Linked DNA regions of Homo sapiens: region 2 is linked to region 1. The links are contacts of gene promoters, found by promoter capture Hi-C in blood cells and fetal thymus (Javierre and others, 2016). All regions are on one chromosome and are shown on one strand. The core of a region is centred on a gene start or on the middle of the fragment in contact, and the rest is flanking DNA. Distances in the headings are between cores, read along the strand shown.

Region 1 (5,310 bases), core at 1,593-4,092:
AAACACAAACTGTCTTTCCTGACCTCCTGGTCTCAAGCAATCCTCCCCTCCTCAGCCTCCCCAAGTAACTGGGACCACAGGCACATGCCACCAAGCCCAGCCAATTTTTTGAAGAGATAGAGCCTCTTTATGTTGCCCAGGCTGGTCTTGAACCCTTAGGCTCAAGCAGTACTCCTGCTTTGGCCTCCCAAAGTGCTGGGATTACAGGCATGAGCCACCGTGCCCAGCCTCTACATGGTTTTCACATACAGTACAAATATCTTGTAAATTGAGGGACAACTGTACAGTTTCACATAGAACATTCCCAAGAATTGTTCACCATTTCAGAAAATCTCATCGGGAATGGTACAGTGCTTTCCTGGGGTGCCTGATATGTAACACACCTGTGTACCTGCATTTCTAAGTAGAGACTTAAACACAACTATCTCACTAGGGGAGTCATAGCAATATTTACATACTGAAATACATGTAATTTTATTATTAATATAAACTACTTTTACATTTTCTCCTTTATATTCCAGTTAGGGTATTAATTATGCTGGCTTTTAAAAATTGCACATAGCTGGACTTGGTGGCTCATGCTTGTAATCCCGGCACTTTGGGAGGCTGAAGTGGGAGGACTGCTTGAGCTCAGGCGCTTGAGACCAGCCTGGGGAACATAGTGAGACCCCGTCTCTACAAAATATAAAAAATTAGCCAGGCATGGTGGTGCGCCTGCGGTCTCAGCTACTTGGGAGGCAGAAGTGGGTGGATCCCTTGAGCCCAGGAGGTCCAGGCTGCAGTGAGCCGGGATGACACCACTGCACTCCACCTGGGCGACAGAGTCAGACTCTCTCAAAAATGTATACATACAAAGACATTATACATATATTCCATTTCAAGGTAACGGGGGTGTAAAATATAAAACAGAAGCTTCAGATCTTATTGGATCAAAAGTGGTTCACAATGCTTTTCTCTATCACTGCCACATGCTGAGTTATTCATTCATTAGTTCAGTCATTCATCAAATACTGATTGAGCAAAGATGACAAAACAGATCTTGCCCCTACCCTCATGGAGAGTGTGATCTTATGAAGCGACAGACAGAAATTAATGATCATGCAAATATGTAGTCATAGCAACTGTGATGAAGGATAAAAAGTATAAGGTAATGGAAGTATTCAACCTAATCTTAGAGGTAAGGAAAGGCTTCCTTAAGGAAATGACTTAAAGCTGATACTCAAGGGATAAACGAGTTGATGGGGGTCTCTCTGAACCTATTCTGGTTCAATTATTTAAAAAAATAGTTAACCAGAAGGCAGTACGGAGAGGAAAAAGTGTAAAGGCTCTCTCAGTAGCAGAAGAGAATGAAAAAGGGAGAAAGTTTGGAACAGAGGAGTGAGGGAAAGTAAGGCTTAAGACGAGGCAGGAGAAAGGAGCAGGAGTCTTGGCCAAAATAAAGATTTGGGTTTTGTTCCCTAAGCCAGGAAATGACATGATTAGATTTGCTTTTAAGGATCCTTCCAAACTGCTAAAGACATGTAGATCAAGTATTCATTGGCTGGGCGCGGTAGCCCACGCCTGTAATCCCACCACTTTGGGAGGCTGAGGCGGGAAGATCCCTTGAGGCCAATAGTTCTAGACCAGCCTGGGCAACACAGTGAGATCCCATCTCTCTCCATTTATTTATTTTAAAAAGAGACTCAGGCCGAGCGCGGTGGCTCACGCCAGTAATCCCAGCACTTTGGGAGGCTCACGAGGTGAGGAGTTCGAGACCAGCCTGACCAACATGGTGAAACTGCAGTCTCTACTAAAAATACCAAAATTAGCCAGTCGTGGTGGCGCGCGCCTGTAATCTCAGCTACGCAGGAGGCCGAGGCAGGAAAATCGGTTGAACCCGGGAGGCGGAGGTTGCAGTGAGCCAAGATCGCGCCACTGCACTCCAGCCTGGGCGACAGCCCAAGACTCCGTCTCAAATAAACATATAAAAAGAAAGTCAAGGTTATTCATTGCCTCCCTTGGAGACTGTACTCCCCCCCACCATGTCAATCAACAAATATCTGAACACCTATTTTTTTTTTTTTTTTTTTTTTTTTTGAGACGGAGTCTCGCTCTGTCGCCCAGGCCGGACTGCGGACTGCAGTGGCGCAATCTCGGCTCACTGCAAGCTCCGCTTCCCGGGTTCACGCCATTCTCCTGCCTCAGCCTCCCGAGTAGCTGGGACTACAGGCGCCCGCCACCGCGCCCGGCTAATTTTTTGTATTTTTAGTAGAGACGGGGTTTCACCTTGTTAGCCAGGATGGTCTCGATCTCCTGACCTCATGATCCACCCGCCTCGGCCTCCCAAAGTGCTGGGATTACAGGCGTGAGCCACCGCGCCCGGCCTCTGAACACCTATTACATACGGGGATACAGCTAAGAACTTTTCACAGAGACCCCCGCCCCTAACAAAACTTTACCTAAAAGGGTTGGGAGCATGTCCTACTCTAGTTTCATTCCCCGTTGGATCCGGCACACAACGCTAGGCGGTCATGTGTTCACTAAGCACCCCTGTGCCAGGCTCAAAAACATGGCCCAGGCGCAGACACTCAGATCAGCACCCACCCAGACCTGCAGGCGCTGTCTGCACACGCCTGACCGAGTCCACGTGCAAATGCACACGCACGAGCATTTGCAGGAGACCCCGGAAACACGCACACGTCCCAGGGGGGCCCACACTCCCGGAGCCGCCTTCGGTCCATGCCTCGCCCGGCCTGACTCTCCGTTCTCGCCCTCCCCGGTCCCTGGTCCCCCATCCACACTGCTCACTCGCGGGACTCACTTTCAGGTGTCTCCACGCCATGCTCCTTCCGTCATTAAGCCCGCCCCTGTCTCCCTTCCATTGGAGGAGATGGTGGCGGCCCCTCTTGTCTCCGCCCCTTAGCCGCCAACCCACCAGTCGCCGGGCAGAAGGGTTGAGAGGACGCCTCCGCGCAGCGGGGAAGGCCCGGCACCACCCCCAGGTTCTGGTTGGGTGCACGTGCGCAGTAGCGGCGGCCACGCCTCTTCCGCCCGCCCTCTCCCAGCCTGCCCGCTTGATCGCCGGCTGTTGGCGGAGATGAGATGCCGCTGCACGGTGTTTGTCCGTACTACCGCAGCCTCGAATCCAAGAGTCCGCGAGCATCAAAACACTGTGTTTCACACCAGAAATATTTGTACAGTTTTTATCACTTTAAAAAATAAATTTTACTGCTGTGTTGATATAAAGATGAATATGTTAATATATAAACTTTTTCAACTTAAAAGTTGATTTTTCTTAAGGTTTTTTAAGGAAATTAAAACATTTTCTTGAGGCCGGGCATGGTGGCTCACGCCTGTAGTCCCAGCACTTTGGGAGGCTGAGGCAGGCAGATCACTTGAGGTCAGGAGTTCGAGACCTGGTCAACACCCAAAACCCCGTGTCTACTAAAAAATAAAATAAAATACAAAAATTAGCCGGGCGTAGTGGCAGGCGCCTGTAATCCCAGGTACTCGGGAGGCTGAGGCAGGAGAATCGCTTGAACCCAGAAGGTGGAGGTTGCAGTGAGCCGAGATAGCACCACTGCACTCCAGCCTGGGCGACAAAGCAAGACTCTGTCTCAAAAACAAACAAAGAAAAATAACCAAAAAAAAAAAATTTCTTGAGATCCTAAAAGTGTCAGAGGCCCTTCCCTGGCCCTGCGCCTGTTGTGCCTCCTGGAGAAAGTGGCCCTGGTTATACCTTGGCATTGTGGTGCAACAGATGTGGAGGTATTTTTTTAAATACTGTTTCTAATCAAGACCCTGAGTGTGCAGGCCCGTTGGAGTGTGGTTTACTGCGGTGATTTTTTTTTTTTTTTTTTTTTTTTTTTGACAGAGTCTTGCTCTGTTGCCCAGGCTGCAGTGCAGTGGCGCGATCTCGGCTCACTACAAGCTCCGCCTCCCGGGTTCACGCCATTCTCCTGCGTCAGCCTCCCGAGTAGCTGGGACTACAGGCGCCCGCAACCATGCCCGGCTCATTGTTTTGTATTTTAGAGACGGGGTTTCACCGTGTTAGCCAGGATGGTACTGCGGTGATTTATGACGACCTAATGTGTCACTTTGTAGTCCTCTGAAGCAATCGTGCCCTCACGAAGAATTTTGAAATGTCTTACCTAATGATGTCCTGGCCGTTGGAGAATAGCCTCTGTAGACTTAGGTGTCAACAGCATTAATCAGATACTTATTGTTTGGAGGCTCTACACCCATCCGTGTCATTTTTGTCCAGTTGCAGTGTTCCCGCCATCAGCTGAAATAGCTGGGTTATTGTCGTAGCAGAAATTAGAGCAAAAGAAAGGTGTATGAAATATCTTGAGTCAAGCCATTTTTGAGCTTCATCAGTTGTATGAAGCTATCAAATTAGAACAAATTCACAGACCCAGCTGAGACTTAGAGACAGATTCTACTGCAATAATTTACATGCTAGGTGTTTCAGTCTACATGCAATAGAAATCATTGAAAACATTTATCAAGGTAAAAGTTATGCTTATCAACCTGTCTTCCCTTTACACTTTAATGGAATAAGTTAATTCAGCACACCTTAGTCAACATAAATCATTGCTCATCTGGGACAAAAAACTACTTACATGTTTATCCTCAGTTCTGAGCACTCTCTCACCAATTTTTTGGTCGTTTAAATTAAAACTTTTATTGATAGAGTGCTTGTGTCTTAGATAAAGCATGTATTGAAAGAATATATACAAGGACTTTACCCTTTATGAAAAGGATTGAAATGAAATTACAGCATTGTGTAAGATACCTGACTTGACTTTCAGAGATTTCATCAACATCAGGTTTCATTTAAAAATGCTTGAAACGGTCCCAGTCAGTCCAGAGGCTGCGGCTGTGGAGGTACCACCTGTGGAGAAACTGCAAAGATGCTGTCTGTGTGTGTCTCCGCGGCCGTAGCCCGTGACCTCACTCGGTGGGCAGGACTGGTCTCCAGAAATGCTTTGGGTTCATCTTTCATTGCTGCAAGGAACCTCCATGCCTCTAACACTCATCTTCAGAAGACTGGGACTGCTGAGATGTCCTCTATTCTTAAAGAGCATGTTCTTGGAGCTGATACCTCTGCTGACCTTGAAGAAACTGGGCATGTCTTAAGTATTGGTGATGGTATTGTCCATGTACATGGGCTGAGGAATGTTCCAAGCAGAAGAAATGGTAGAGTTTTCTTCAGGCTTAAAGGATATGTCCTTGAACTTCGAAACTGACAATGTTGGCATTGTAGTGTTTGAAAATAATAAAGTAAGGAAGGAGGTATAGTGAAGAGGACAGGAACCATTGTGGACGTTC
Region 2 (5,310 bases), core at 1,919-4,418, 450 kb after region 1:
GAGATGGCTAATGGGTACAGAGTTTCTTTTTGGAGTGATGAATATATTCTAAAATTGATAATGGTGATGGTTACACAACTTTAAAGAAAGTAAAAACCATTGAATTGTACAATTTAAGTGGGTTGAGTTGTGTGGTATGTAGATCATGTCTCAGTAATACTGTTTTTTTTGTGTGAGTGGAAAAAAAGATATAAAGGAGTCAGACTTTAGGGAGATCAACTCAAATATCTGTGTGGCATTTAAAGGATTTTTAGGTTTTTAAAGAAAAGAAAAAGCATGTAAGATTGCCAGTTTGTAGCTATCTGTTCATGGTGGAAAACAGTAACTTTTTCTCATGTTCATCCTAGTCACAAACATTGTGATGTTACTTCAGACATAATCATTCTAAAAGGCAGAGATAACTTCAGTTTTTTAAAGATAAGGAGTGCACACTTGCAGGAATTAGTTTGGGGACTAGAACTAGATGGGGTGACCTCATCATTGTTGTTTCATTTAAGGGTACAAAGTGCTTATTTTTCCTGACTCTGGTATTTCATAATGGAAGCAGGGCAAAGTGTCAGTTGGGCTTCCACACTGGGAGCAATAAGAAATTTCTAGAAAAACATCTGAGATGTTTCTGTAAATAGCAGAATTAGCATGTGTGATAAACTAGTGGTTTTTACACTTTTTCGTTCATGTGTTCCCTAAAATAATTTAGAATTCTTGACTGAAAATTCAAACATATATAAAAGTAGAAGCAGTAGTATAATTAGCACCAATATACCCATCACTCAGATTTAATGACTCTCAAGATATTGCCATTTTTGTTCCTTCCTTCTTTTTCTTGTTTTCTTTGCCAAAAGATTGTAAAGCAAATCCTGGACATCGTTAGTTCTCCCCATACGCCTCAGTACACATCTCTAAACACATAATTTCTTAACCACAGTGCCACATCACATCAAATAGTAAGATATTTTTGGTTGCCTCCAAAATGTCTTCTTATAGTTGGTTTATTTGGATCAGGATTCAAACAAAGTTTAAACATTACTTTTTAGTTTTATGTCTTAAGCTTAAATATCTCTTACTCTAGAGAAGGCTCCTGTTTTTTTTTTTTTCTTTTCATACCATTGACTTGTTGCAGGAATGGCTGTCTTACAAAATGTTCTACATTCTGGATATGTTTGTTGGCTTCCTTGTGGTGTCATTTAACTTGTTCATTTAACTAGAGCATGCATTTTTCAACAGAGATGATATTGGATATTTACTAGAAATTTACCTTCTTTTTTTTGTTGTTGAAACAGGATCTTGCTCTGTTGCCCAGACTGGAGTGCAATGACATGATTACAATCATAGCTCGCTGCAGCCTTGACCTCCTAGACTCAAGTAATCTTTCCACCTCAGCCTTCTGAGTGGCTCGGACCATAGTTACATGCCAACATGCCTGCCTAATTTGTGTATTTTTTGCAGAGATGGGGTCTCACTATGCTGCCCAGGCTGGTCTCCTGGGCTCAAATGATCCTTCTGCTTTGGCCTCCCAAAGTGCCAGGATGATTTTCTTTCTTCATCTTGTATTTCTGTTTTATGTTTTACCCCAGTTTTATGTTAACGTTATCCTTATCTTTGAAAGTATTTTATTGATCATACTTCTTTGCCACAAAAATACTGACTGATATGGCAGGTTGCTAGAGGTTCCCCAATGACTTTCTCTCCTTGTAGTATTAAAACTGCTGATGGGGCTGGGCGTGGTGGCTCACGCCTGTAATCCCAGCACTTTGGGAGGCCAGGGGGGCAGATCACCTGAGGTCAGGAGTTCAAGACCAGCCTGGCCAACATGGTGAAATCCCATCTCTACTAAAAATACAAAAATTAGCCAGGTGTGGTGGCAGGCACCTGTAATCCCAGATACTGGGGAGGCTGAGGCAGGAGAATCGCTTGAACCTTGGAGGCGGAGGTTGCAGTGAGCCGAGATCGCACCATCACACTCCAGCCTGGGGGACGAGAGCAAGACTTTATCTCAAAAAACAAACAAATAAACAAAACAAAACAACGACAACAAACTGCTGATGGAATGGATCAGGATCACTTTTCAGTGAATTTCTCAACTTTGGGGTTTCCAGACCATACAGGTAGGTTACATTTGAACACTAAACCCATGTAAAGGAATGCCTATGCTTACAAACTGTCATGGGAGAGTTTTCTTTTTTCTTCCCAGGGGCCAGAATAAGAAAGATTTCTTTATAATCCATCTTGTTACTCAGCCTTAACATTTGGAAGGGCTTGGCTTTGTGGAGAGGTCTAAATTTTAAATCCCTGCCTTACATGGGTCTAAGTCCTCCTCCACTAGTGTTAAACTCTAAACCCATGATTACTGAGATGTTACCAGCATAAGCATACTCTTATTTTCCAAATTTTCAGGCCCCTCTTTGTTTTTGCTTCTTTGGGGATTCTGTTACTCTCTTGCAAGCTTGGCTCTGAATTTGAAAATACGTTTGTTAGATTTTATCCATCATATCTAGATGTTTTGAAGCCCAAACATTTTCATATGATCTTTCTTGTGATGTTGCTTTGGAAGTCTCCATACTTCTCTTACATCTCTCCATCCTGATGTTTCCTCCTTCCGTTCTCCCCCTGCCCAAAATCTTTGTTCCATAGCAGGTACAATTATCTGCCATCATCAAACTGGTTACTTCTTTGCCTTAACTGTAACTTCGCTCTTCCCCTAAAGTCACTGTTTGTTCTTTTTTTTTTGAGACAGAGTCTCGCTCTCTTGCCAGGCTGGAGTGCAATGGCACCATCTCAGCTCAGGGCAACCTCTGCTTCCCAGGTTCAAGCAATTCTCCTGCGTCAGCCTCCCGAGCAGCTGGGATTACAGGTGCGTGCCACCACACCCAGCTAATTTTTGTATTTTTAGTAGAGACAGGGTTTCACCATGTTGGCCAGGATGGTCTCGATCTCCTGACCTCATGATCTGCCTGCCTTGGCCTCCCAAAGTGCTGGGATTACAGGCGTGAGTCACTGCACCCGGCCAACTCACTGTTTGAAATAGCTTTTTTTCCCACATAGCCCAGACTCTAACTTATTGTCTTTTTTCATATCTATACTCCCCCAGACTCACACAATAACCAGCTTCCTTTAAAACATGTGCTGAATTACTTTATATCCTTTCTGTGCACACTCCCTTATTTATTTAGGGCCTGATACATGGGAAATTTCAACACTTGGGAAATTTCAACATCTCTGTGGATAGCCTCACCCACACTCTAACCTCAAGGCCTCTTGCTTATTCCAAACATGAGGAGCTGTACAATCTACCCCACAATGGCCCCACTCCCAAAGCCACACCTGTGTTCCTTGTCATCACTTGAACTAGACTATTTTAGGATTATTAATCCCTAACATGTAATTTACTAACTGCAAGCTGCTCACCCTCCAACTGGCTCACAATCTGACACCTGGACATTTTACAGCCCTTTAATCTCTTCAAACATTTCCCAAGTCCATTAACTCCCTTGCATTGTTACACTTCTTTTTTGCCTCATGGTGCTGTACTCTGCCCACATTCCTGCCAGCGACCTCAACTTCTTAGCTTCCTTATTCCACAGCATCTACTGTGCACAGCCTCTACCTGGGATTAATCTGATCCTGAACCTTCTCAATTTCTATACTTAAAGTAAAAATAAAGGTAAATGGGTGCCACTGGTACACGGTCTCTGGCCTCGCTAGGGCCTCAGCACTGTTTTGGCAATCCCTTTACAAACACTGGACCAGTGCTTCCTTGAGTTGAAGATGGCAGGCCCATAGAATGAGAGGAGCCGGGTGCTTCAATTACTGCTCCGAGAAGAGCTATTTACTGACCATGTTGGTCTTCATTTGAGCAAGAAAACACTTCAATTGTGTTTGAGCCATCAAGCTTTTGGTATCTGTTTGTTGTAACAATTACCATTACTTTAACAAATACAATGAGATACCATTTTAAAATTTTAATTTTCATCAGCAATAAGAGAAAATGTTATTTTATTTATTTATTTTTTTGAGATGGAGTTTCGCTCTTGTTTCCCAGGCTGGAGTGCAATGGCGCAATCTCGGCTCCCCGCAACCTCCGCCTCCCGGGTTCAAGTGATTCTTCTGCCTCAGCCTCCCGAGTAGCTGGGATTACAGGCATGTGTCACCACGCCTGGCTAATTTCGTATTTTTAGTAGAGAGGGGGTTTCACCATGTTGGTCGGGCTGGTCTCAAACTCTGGACCTCAGGTGATCTGCCCACCTCGGCCTCCTAAAGTGCTGGGATTACAGGTGTGAGCCACCCGCCCGGCTGAGAAAATATTATTTAAAACCAGCAATACAAAATTTAATTTCTTCTTCTTTTTTTTTTTTTTTTCAGACAGGGTGTCACCCTGTCACCCAGGCTGGTCTCGAACTCCTGACCTCAAGTTATCCTCCCGCCTCAGCCTCCCAAAGTGCTGGGATTACAGGTGTGTGCCACCACACCTGGCCTAGGAAATGTCCTTTCATTTTTGCTTCTCATCTCCCTGGTCCTACCTGCCTTATCCCCTATAGGGCTCACTATTTTTAGTTTCTCATGTATTCTTGAGAGTTTCTCTACAAGTATATAAGCAACTTTGAGTATAGTTTTATTTTCCCTTAAAACAAAACATAGTGTGTAATCACAATTTTATACTTTCCTTTTATTTCTTCTTTTCCTTCTCCTTCCTCTTCCTCTTTCTTTTCCTCCTTCTCCTCCTCCTCCTCTTCCTCCTCCTCCTTCTTCTTTGCCTTGCTCTGTTGCCCAGGTTGACGTGCAATGGTGTGATCATAGCTCACTGCAGCCTTGAACTCCTGGGTCAAGTGACTCTCCTGCCTCAGCCTCCCAAGTATCTGAGACTACAGGCATGTGCCACCACGTTTAGCTAATGTTTTTGCATTTTTTTTTTTTTTGATGGAGTCTCGCTCTGTCGCCCGGGCTGGATTGCAGTGGCATGATTTCGGCTCACTGCAAGCTCCCCCTCCTGGGTTCATGCCATCCTCCTGCCTCAGGCTCCCAAGTAGCTGGGACTACAGGTGCCCACCACCACGCCCGGTTAATTTTTTGTATTGTTAGTAGAGACGGGGTTTCACCGTGTCAGCCAGGATGTTCTCAATCTCTTGACCTCGTGATCCACCTGCCTCAGCCTCCCAAAGTGCTGGGATTACAGGCATGAGCCACTGCACCTGGCCTTGTTGTTTTTAAATTTTTTAATAGAAATGGGGTCTTGCTATGTTGCCCCAGCTACTCACAAACTCCTGGCCTCAAGCAATCCTCCTGCCTAGGCTTCCCAAAGAGCTGGGATTACAG

The links. Contacts are between HindIII fragments. The CHiCAGO score rates a contact against its expected background, and 5 or more counts as called.
Region 2: a contact is called between a fragment that was not itself captured here and the fragment with the promoter of DHODH in region 1, in 1 of 17 cell types (non-activated CD4 T cells). The highest score is 5.9, in non-activated CD4 T cells.

The regions. Positions count from the first base shown.
Region 1 is chr16:72,006,276-72,011,585 of GRCh38, reverse strand. It overlaps DHODH (dihydroorotate dehydrogenase (quinone)), which reads right to left and starts at 2,842. Exons shown (of 9, transcript NM_001361.5): 1 at 2,801-2,842. The coding sequence starts at 2,821. It also overlaps the pseudogene ATP5F1AP3. RefSeq lists silencers at 2,848-3,047, 2,991-3,090. The HindIII fragment of the contact is 5,632 bases long and covers 915-5,310 here.
Region 2 is chr16:71,553,604-71,558,913 of GRCh38, reverse strand. No RefSeq gene overlaps it. Among named protein-coding and RNA genes, the nearest start is that of TAT-AS1, 8.8 kb to the left of the region's middle. The HindIII fragment of the contact is 1,446 bases long and covers 2,446-3,891 here.